2 separate regions of the Homo sapiens genome follow, and region 1 is linked to region 2. The links are contacts of gene promoters, found by promoter capture Hi-C in human tissues and cell types (Jung and others, 2019). All regions are on one chromosome and are shown on one strand. The core of a region is centred on a gene start or on the middle of the fragment in contact, and the rest is flanking DNA. Distances in the headings are between cores, read along the strand shown. Region 1 overlaps GRK5 (G protein-coupled receptor kinase 5). Region 2 holds the start of PRDX3 (peroxiredoxin 3).

Region 1 (4,438 bases), core at 875-3,374, 46 kb before region 2:
AAAGCTAGGACAGAACTCACATCACTAGTCTCCACCTTTTGCTACTTCCAACTGTAGAAAAATTAAGCAGAAGAGAATCAGCACGCTTGAACCTGGGAGGCAAAGGTTGCAGTGGGCCGAGATTGCTCCACTGCACTCCAGCCTGGGTGACAGAGTTAGGCTTCATCTCAAAAAAAAAAAAAAAATTAAAATTAAAAAAAAAAAAAAGAAAAAGAAGAAGATGCCAGGCACAGTGGCTCACACCTGTAATCCCAGCTCTTTGGGGAGCCGAGACGGGCAGATCACAAGGTCAGGAGTTCGAGCCCAGACTGGCCAATATGATGAAACCTCGTCTCTATTAAAAATACAAAAATTAGCCGGGTGCTGGCTCATGCCTGTAATCCCAGCACTTTGGGAGGCTGAAGCGGGTGGATCATGAGGTCGGGAGATCGAGACCATCCTGGCCAACATGGTGAAACACCATCTCTACTAAAAATACAAAAATTAGCAAGGCATGGTGGCGGGCACCTGTAGTCCCAGCTACACGGGAGGCTGAAGCAGGAGAATGGCGTGAACCCGGGAGGCGGAGCTTGCAGTGAGCCAAGATCATGCCACTGCACACCAGCCTGGGTGACAGAGCGAGACTCCATCTCAAAAAAAAAAAGAAAAAAAAATACAAAAATTAGCCGGGCACAGTGGTGCATGCCTGTAGTCCCAGCTACTCAGGAGGCTGAGACAGGAGAATTGCTTGAACCCAGGAGGAGGAGGTTGCAGTGAGCCAAGATCGCGCCATTGCACTCCAGCCTGGGTGACAGAGCGAGACTCTATCTCAAAAAAAAAAAAAAAAAAGAGAGAGAGAGAAGAAAATCAGCAGTCCTCTCCACATCACCCTAAACTATGAAATCTGAGCATCACCAGTCAGGATACAGCTAGTATCTAGACAAACCTTGCAGGAGAATGCAGAACTGGGTGAGGTTTTGCCAGGAGCCCAGAAGAGTGCTTGATAGGGCCCATTCCCCTCCCAACCTCTTCCCCCGTATGTGACAACAGTGTCCCCGACAACAAGCCTTAAAAGGTAGGTAATACCTATCACTCTCTCACTCCTTGTGGGATGTCTTGAAGTCCACATGGCAATATTTCCACCCCTCACATCTAGATGGAAAATTCTTACATTTTCTCAACAATATTTACTTACTGTTTTCTTTGGCCAGATGAAGTACTGTGTATTTTTAAACTTTCCAGGAAGACAGTTTATTAAGATAATACAGTGTAGGATAATCAAACTGTTTATTTTTGACTTTTGATTTAATCTTCCTTTCTGTAATCTACTAAAGAAAACATTAGAATCATGCATTTGCCTTTCTTGGATTGCGAGAATCAGTTCAATTAGCAGTGGCGGGTTTTTTTCCTGTTTATTTCTACTACAAATGTAACCCCTCTTGGCTCTCATTCTTCCCTTGGGGTAATTTTTGTTTTAATGTGTAATGCCTGCTCTTCAAATTAACATCAAATTTTATTCTGAAGTACCCACAGTTGAATTATCAGTGGAAAATGCACCTGCAAATTCTCAAGATTTGAAGGGTGAGAAGAGACTCCAGGATCACCTGGCCAAGCTGCACATTTATGCAGCTGAGGATGGTTTTGCTTGGAGAGGAGCCACACAGCACATGAGTGGCACACTCTCCTTTTCCCTTTGAACTTCTCATAGAACCTTGATCAAGCTTTCAATGGAATGGAAACATCTTGCCTCAATGCACAGCAGGAGAAGATACCATATTACCTCGAAAATTAAAAAGTGGGTGACTAGGCTGGGCGCAGTGGCTCACGCCTGTAATCCTAGCACTTTGTAAGGCCAAGGCAGTTGGATAACCTGAGGTCAGAAGTTCGAGACCAGCCTGACCAACATGGTGAAACCCCATCTCTACTAAAAAAAAATGCAAAAGTTAGCCGGGCATGGTGGCGGGCGCCTGTAATCCCAGCTACTCGGGGCGCTGAGGCAAGAGAACCGCTTGAACCTGGGAGGCAGAAGGTTGCAGTGAGCCGAGATCGTGCCATTGCACTCCAGCCTGGGCGACAGAGCAACACTCCGTCTCAATAAATAAATAAATAAATAAATAAATAAATAAATAATAAATTAATAAATAAATAGTGGGTGACTGGATCTCACTTCTGGCAAGTTATGAAGCCTTGAGCTTTGCCAGATGTTAGCAACAACATCATTCCCACCTGCTAATAAATCCTATCCTAAGGTTGGTTATGTCTGTTACTTGGCTGCAATGCACAATGAGAGCCCAGTCTGGGAATCTGGAGGGCAGGGTTCTGGCTATGTTTGTTTGTTTGTTTGTTTTTTAAGAGACAGGGTCTCACTCTGTTGCCCAGATTGGAGTGCAGTGGCTATTCACTGGAGTGCAGTGCATAGCACACTGCAGCCCAGAACTCCTGGCTCAAGTGATCTTCCTGGCTTGGGAGTAGCTGGGACTACAGGTGAGTGCCACCGTGCCGGACTTGGGGTTCTGCTTTTAGTTCTACAGTGGGTATCATAGTTGTCTTCTAATATTAGAAGGGCCCCCTCAGGCAAAGAGTGGTGCATTTATCCTGGATACCTCCAAAGAGCAGAACCAGGACCTAATGGGTTAACATGGCACCAGACATACCAGGTCTCCACAGGCCGACTTGGGTTTACTTTTAGCATCTCGTTAGTTCCAGTAAGATACAAAGAAAAAGCCCTGGTGTCAGCCCTCAGGAAGTCTACAATTTAGTGGGTGAGGCAAGAAGCCTATCTAATATATATAGATATATATAATATATATATATTATTATAGATATTTTTAATCCAGTGGTTTAAAATCGGATAGGCTGCTTAGAAGAAGGTATGAGCTCCCCGTCTCTAGAAATATTTGAGCAGAAGACAGAAACCAACTGCCAGGGAACCTGCAGAGTCCTATTTGGGGACCCGGTCAGAGTAGTCTGGATGTCCAAGATAATCTCAGAAGGCACTCAGAAAACCCACCAGCTCCAGGGTTCTATAGAGCAGCAGTTCCCACGCCTGGTTCATCCTCAGAACCTCCTGTTTTAAAAATACAGGCTATCCCCAAAAGCTGCTGCTTCAGTACAGGCAGGGCCTGTGTTCCAGGGTTCACTGCGTCCTCCAAAGAAGATTATGTTGAAGTCCTAACCCCCGGTACCTCAGAATGTGACTTTATTTGGAAATAGGATCTTTATGGAGGTAATCAAGTTAACATGAGGTCATTCAAGTGGGCCATGATCCAATAGCACTGGTGTCCTTATACAAAGGATAACTCTGGACACAGGGACAGATGCACAAGAGGAAGACGCACAGGGAGAAGACAGCCACCAACAAGCCAAGGAGAGAGGCCTGGAACGGGTCTTCCCCGGGTACCTTCAGAGGGAGCACGGCCCTGCACACACCTTGATTTCAAACGTCTGGCCTCCAGAACTGTGCGACAATAGATGTCTGTTGTTCTAAACCACCCAGTTGGTGGCACTTTATTACGTATCCCTAGGAAACACACAGCCTGGGGATGGGTGTTAGAGTTGCAGAGCTGCCCTGGAGGAAAATCCAGGCCAGGGGACCCATCCTGCTTTGGAGCCTCTTTCTGCTCCTGCACGGCCACCCATGCGGGCCCCTTTTGGCCCTCAGATCCCTTCTTTGCGGAAGGAAGGAGCTGGCTTCAGTGTGAGGAGCTCCCTCCCACACTCTGACAGGACACGGAGCCCGTAGCCTCAGCACGCAGTGAAGGGGCAGCCCTTCCCCATGTAGAGCTAGCTCACACATCTGCAAATGTTTCCCAGAAGAAAATGCCATTCTCCTCCAATTGTTAACAAAATTACTGAAGGCCGTGGGGCTCTGGACTATGCCCTCATGCCAAGCTTATCTCGGAGGGAGGCAGAGCAGGAGGAGGGGCCACTGATTTGTTTTGTGTGGTGCTGTTTTTAATGGGCGTTTTCTATTCTCAGGTGGGAACCGTAGGGCCCTTGTCTAGGTAAATTCCATGCAAACCTTTAGTGAAAGCAGTTACCAGAGGAAGAGCTACAGAATTCCACAGAGGAGGATACTGTGCCAGATCAAAGACAGGGCAAATGACCTCAGGAGGACTGACACCAGCACAGGCAGCACTTGGAGGGGATTAGGAAGGGGCGTCCCTTCCTCAAGACACTTTCTGCCCCCCGACCTGATACATTTACACATCTACCAGCTTTAGGATGGGAACAATGGCTCCCTAGAATTGTACAATGTACAATGAAACGCAAAAGCTCTCAAACACGAAAAACGAAGCAATGGATTGGCACCACAGGAAACAAGGGGAAGTGGCTCCTTGGTATGTGATCTTGGAAAACCACTTCACCTCTCTGAGCTTGTTTTCCTTCTTTCTCAAACTAGAATAATACTAACAGCAACAGCAAAAACAATTCCCAGGCCCACAGGGTTGTGCTGATG
Region 2 (4,413 bases), core at 1,230-3,729:
TCCTGTACCTACTAAATAGTTCCGGCTGGGCGCACTGGCTCACACCTGTAATCCCAGCGCTGTGGGAGGCCAAGGCAGGCAGATCACTTGAGGTCAAGAGTTCGAGATCAGCCTGGCCAACATGGCGAAACTCCGTCTCTACTAAAAAATACAAAAAAAAATTAGCTGGGCATGGTGGTCACACCTGTAGTCCCAGCTACTCGGGAGACTGAGGCAGGAGGATTGCTTGAATCTGGGAGGCAGAGGTTGCAGTGAGCTGAGGTTGCAGTGAGCTGAGATTGCATCACTGTACTCCATCCTGGGCAACAGAGGGAGACTCTGTCTCAAAAATAAATAAATAAAATAAAAAATAAATAGTCAGTCCCCATGCCAGCTTCTCCCAGTCCCTAACAATTGCTGATTTGCTTTCTGTCCCTTTGGAATTACCTATTTTAGATGTTTCATATAAAAGGAAACACACACTATTTGTTCTTTTGTGTCTGGCTTCTTTCACTTAGCTAGTGTTTTCAAAGTTCATCTGTGTTGTAGCATATATCAGTATTTCATTCCTTTTATGGATAAATAATATTCCATTGTGAACTACAGTATTTTTTTTTTTTTTTTTGAGACGGAGTTTCAATCTTGTTGCTGAGGCTGGAGTGCACTGGTTCAATTTCGGCTCACTGCAACCTCTGCCTCCCAGGTTAAAGTGATTCTCCTGCCTCAGCCTCCCAAGTGGCTGAGATTACAGGTATGCACCACCATGCCCAGCTAATTTTGCAATTTTTAGTAGAGAAAGGGTTTCACCATGTTGGTCAGGCTGGTCTTGAACTCCTTACCTCAGGTGATCCACTCACCTCAGCTTCCCAAAGTGCTGGGATTACAGATGTGAGCCACTGCGCCCGGCCTACAGTACGATTTTGAGCTCCAAAATGATTGTCTCCTTTTCAATCATCTGCTAAACACAGACATAATTAAAACCAATTAAACAAACACAAGGAAGGTGTGAGGTGAAATAGTCGAAACGTGTGTCCCCACACATCCAAGGCAGTCCTTTCCACATCTGGGGACTGGTACCCAGGGTGGCGCCTAGTGGTACCTGAGATGATTTTAGAAAATATACTGGGCTGGGTGTGGTGGCTCACGCCTGTAATCCCAGCACTTTGGGAGGCCAAGGTGGGAGGATCACCTGATGTCAGGAGTTCAAGACCAGCCTAGCCAATATGGTGAAACCCCATCTCTACTAAAAATACTAAAAAAATTAGCCGGGTTTAGTGGTGCACGCCTGTAATCCCAGCTACTCGAGAGGCTGAGCCAGAAGAATCGCTCGAACCAAGGAGGTAGAGGTTGCAGTGAGCCGAGATTGTGCCACTGCACTCTAGCCTGGACGACAGAGTGAGACTCTGTCTCAAAAAAGAAAAGGAAAAAAAAAAAAGAAAGCCAATTTAAAGAAAATAGTAAGTGATATTTGGTGATAAGAAGACTTGAGAAACGAAGTTGCTAATTGAATGACTAGTGATTGGAAAATACCAACTCAGACCGGGTGCAGTGGCTCATGCCTATCATCCCAGCACTTTGGGAGGCCGAGGTGGGCGGATCACTTGAGGTCAGGAGTTTGAGACCAGCCTGGCCAACATGGTGAAACCCCATCTCTACTTAAAATACAAAAACTTAACTGGGCATGGTGGCAGGCGGCTGTAATCCCAGCTGCTCAGGAATCCCAATTACTCATGAAGCTCAGGCAGGAGAATCGCTTGAACCCGGGAGGCAGAGGTTGCAGTGAGCCAAGATCATGCCACTGCACTCCAGCCTGGGCGACAGAGCAAGACCCAGTCTCAAAAAAAAAAAAAAAGAAAAGAAAAGAAAAGAGAAAAGAAAATACCAGCTCCAAGACTGCAATTTGTCACACTTACTGTAAGGCCACGGTGTGATTTTTATCTATGTTTGATGTGGTTGCTTCAAGTACTATGCTCACCACTGAACACTTGGCTTCATTAATAGACAAAAACCAAATTTTAAATTTGTCCCAGTTTTCCCAATTTTGGGAAGAGAGGCCAAATGTTAGACCACACACAATTCCAGCGGATTTCAGGCCAACAAAGCCTTGATGTGTCTAGCCCACTTAGCTTATTAACGGACTAAAACTGCATTTGTAATTAATTCCATTTCATACAGAAGCCGGAAGTCTCTACCTGAGGCTGAAATAAGAAAGGGATCCTGTCACAGAAATACTAGACACAGTAATCCACACAAGGTTAACAAAACAGTGGGAAATATGGAAACAAATACCTAATGCCCCGCCTGGATTCGTTCTTTTAAGGTTGGGGCGACAGTAGGAAAACCACGTGTCACTTGCCCAAGCATTCAGCCTTAAAGGGAATTTCTCCCTCAGGGTCTCCAGGAGGCGGGGAGGCGGTGGCTCCTCCGGCCCCGCCCCCCCACCAGCAGAGGGCCCGCTCACCACCCCGTAGGCCCCGCCCCTGCGTCTCTGCCCGCCCCGTGGCGCCCGAGTGCACTGAAGATGGCGGCTGCTGTAGGACGGTTGCTCCGAGCGTCGGTGAGTGGCTGTCGGCTGGGGACAGGCGTGGAGACACTGGTGGCTCCGGGAACGTGCTTCTCAGACAGGACCCCGCGCTTCTGGGCATGAGGGCCATTCGCCCTTCTTGGAGGGTTTCCGCGGGTAACGGACCCAGAGGCCTCCCTCCGGGAAGGTTCCATGCGCCTGCGCAGAACCGCCCTTCCCCACTCCATCCTCGCGGTCTCTTCCCCGAGTCCCTCCTCTTTCGGCGTCCCCGGTCCCCAGGCCCATCTCCACTTAAGGTCCTGGCCCTGATTCTGCCACCGACCCTGTGATCTTGGGCAAGCGCCTTCGCCTTTCTCAGACTGTGTACTTAAGATGGAAAGAATGATGCCTACATCAAGGCGTTGCTGTGAACAGCCCCTTAAATACTGGATAAAAACGCGCAAAGTGCTAAAAAACTCACAAAGGCTTTCCCTCCCAATCCCACTCCCGCGTGTTTCTGCTGCTGTTTCCTGCTTAACTGTGGGCAATGCGTCGTGCTCTTTTGGTACACGGCTTTCTCTGGTGGGGTTCAACACAGCCCCTTTCGTTCTCCTGAGTCATTTTGAACATTAAAGTTGAGCAAACCGGCAGAGTGCGGTGGCTCACGCCTGTAATCCTAGCACTTTGGGAGGCCGAGGCGGGCAGATCACTTGAGCCCAGGAGTTTGAGACCAGCCTGGACAATAATAGTGAGACCTTGTCTCTAAAAAAAAAAATAGCCGGGCATGGTGGTCAGTGCTCCTGGGGAGGCTAAGGTGGGAGGATCACTTGAGCCCAGGAGGTCGAGACTGCAGCGAGCCGAGATCGCGCCACTGCACTCTAGCCTGGGTAAAAGAGCGAGACTCTGTTTCAAAAAAAAAAAAAAAAAGTTGAGTAAACATGTCCCTTGAGCCTTTAACAGACTCCCAGAGGCTGAATTTGGCTCTTCTTGTTTACTTGTCGCTGGTGCTGGAGGGGCCTTGTTTTTCTAAGGAAAACCTTGAAATGGTAGAACATACTCAGCAGATAGTGCTGGGAAAAGCCTGCACAAGTCCCCTGGCTTCTGAACCCTGTGTTGCTTTAAGCGCATGGAGTTTCTGATTTTTTTTTTTTTTTTTTTTGAGACGGAGTTGTCGCCCAGGTTAGAGTGCAATGGCGCGATCTCGGCTCTGCAACCTCTGCCTCCCGGGTTCAAGCAATTCTCCTGCCTCAGCCTCCCAAGCAGCTGGAATTACAGGTGCCCGCCACCGCCGCCTGGCTAAGTTTTGTGTTTTTAGTAGAGATGGAGTTTCACCATCTTGGCCAGGCTGGTCTCGAACTCCTGACCTGGTGATCAACCCGTCTTGGCCTCCCAAAGTGCTGGGATTACAGGTGTGAGCAACCGCGCCCAGCCGGTCTTTGTGTTCTTATAGTTCCTCTCCACCTTCCAGTCTCCTAGGAGAAGGAAGCAGAAGGGAGTGTTAAGAACATGCAGATCCAATCCATGCTCTTAGAGTTTGGGGTTTGCTATTTGGTTCACAGGAACAGGGACAGCTGAAACCACCGTTGGCACGATGCCCTTTCAGCCTTCAGTCACCAGTCCAGGAAAACTTTCTAATAAAAAGTTTCTCTTTCCAGGTTGCCCGACATGTGAGTGCCATTCCTTGGGGCATTTCTGCCACTGCAGCCCTCAGGCCTGCTGCATGTGGAAGAACGAGCTTGACAAATTTATTGTGTTCTGGTTCCAGTCAAGCAAAATTATTCAGCACCAGTAAGTGTTATGTCATGTCTTGGCTGGAGCCAGGTAAAGGAAAAATGAACCATCGTCTCTGGACAGGGGCTCTGAACCCTGGCCAAACGTTAGAGTCACCTGGGAGCTTTCAGGAACACAGCACTGCCCCCGTCCCACCCCAG

What was found. The method cuts DNA at HindIII sites, captures the fragments that hold promoters and counts their contacts. A contact is called where the count stands out against the background at its distance.
Region 1: a contact is called between a fragment that was not itself captured here and the fragment with the promoter of PRDX3 in region 2, in 2 of the 25 tissues and cell types used here (mesenchymal stem cells and spleen).

What each region holds. Positions count from the first base shown.
Region 1 is chr10:119,222,061-119,226,498 of GRCh38, reverse strand. All of the region lies in intron 1 of GRK5 (G protein-coupled receptor kinase 5), which reads right to left. Among named protein-coding and RNA genes, the nearest start is that of GRK5-IT1, 16 kb to the right of the region's middle. RefSeq lists an enhancer at 3,615-4,126. The HindIII fragment of the contact is 5,772 bases long and covers 1-4,438 here.
Region 2 is chr10:119,176,878-119,181,290 of GRCh38, reverse strand. It overlaps PRDX3 (peroxiredoxin 3), which reads left to right and starts at 2,479. Exons shown (of 7, transcript NM_006793.5): 1 at 2,479-2,536; 2 at 4,138-4,270. The coding sequence starts at 2,501. RefSeq lists a silencer at 2,337-2,446 and enhancers at 2,477-2,956, 2,956-3,600. The HindIII fragment of the contact is 15,713 bases long and covers 1-4,413 here.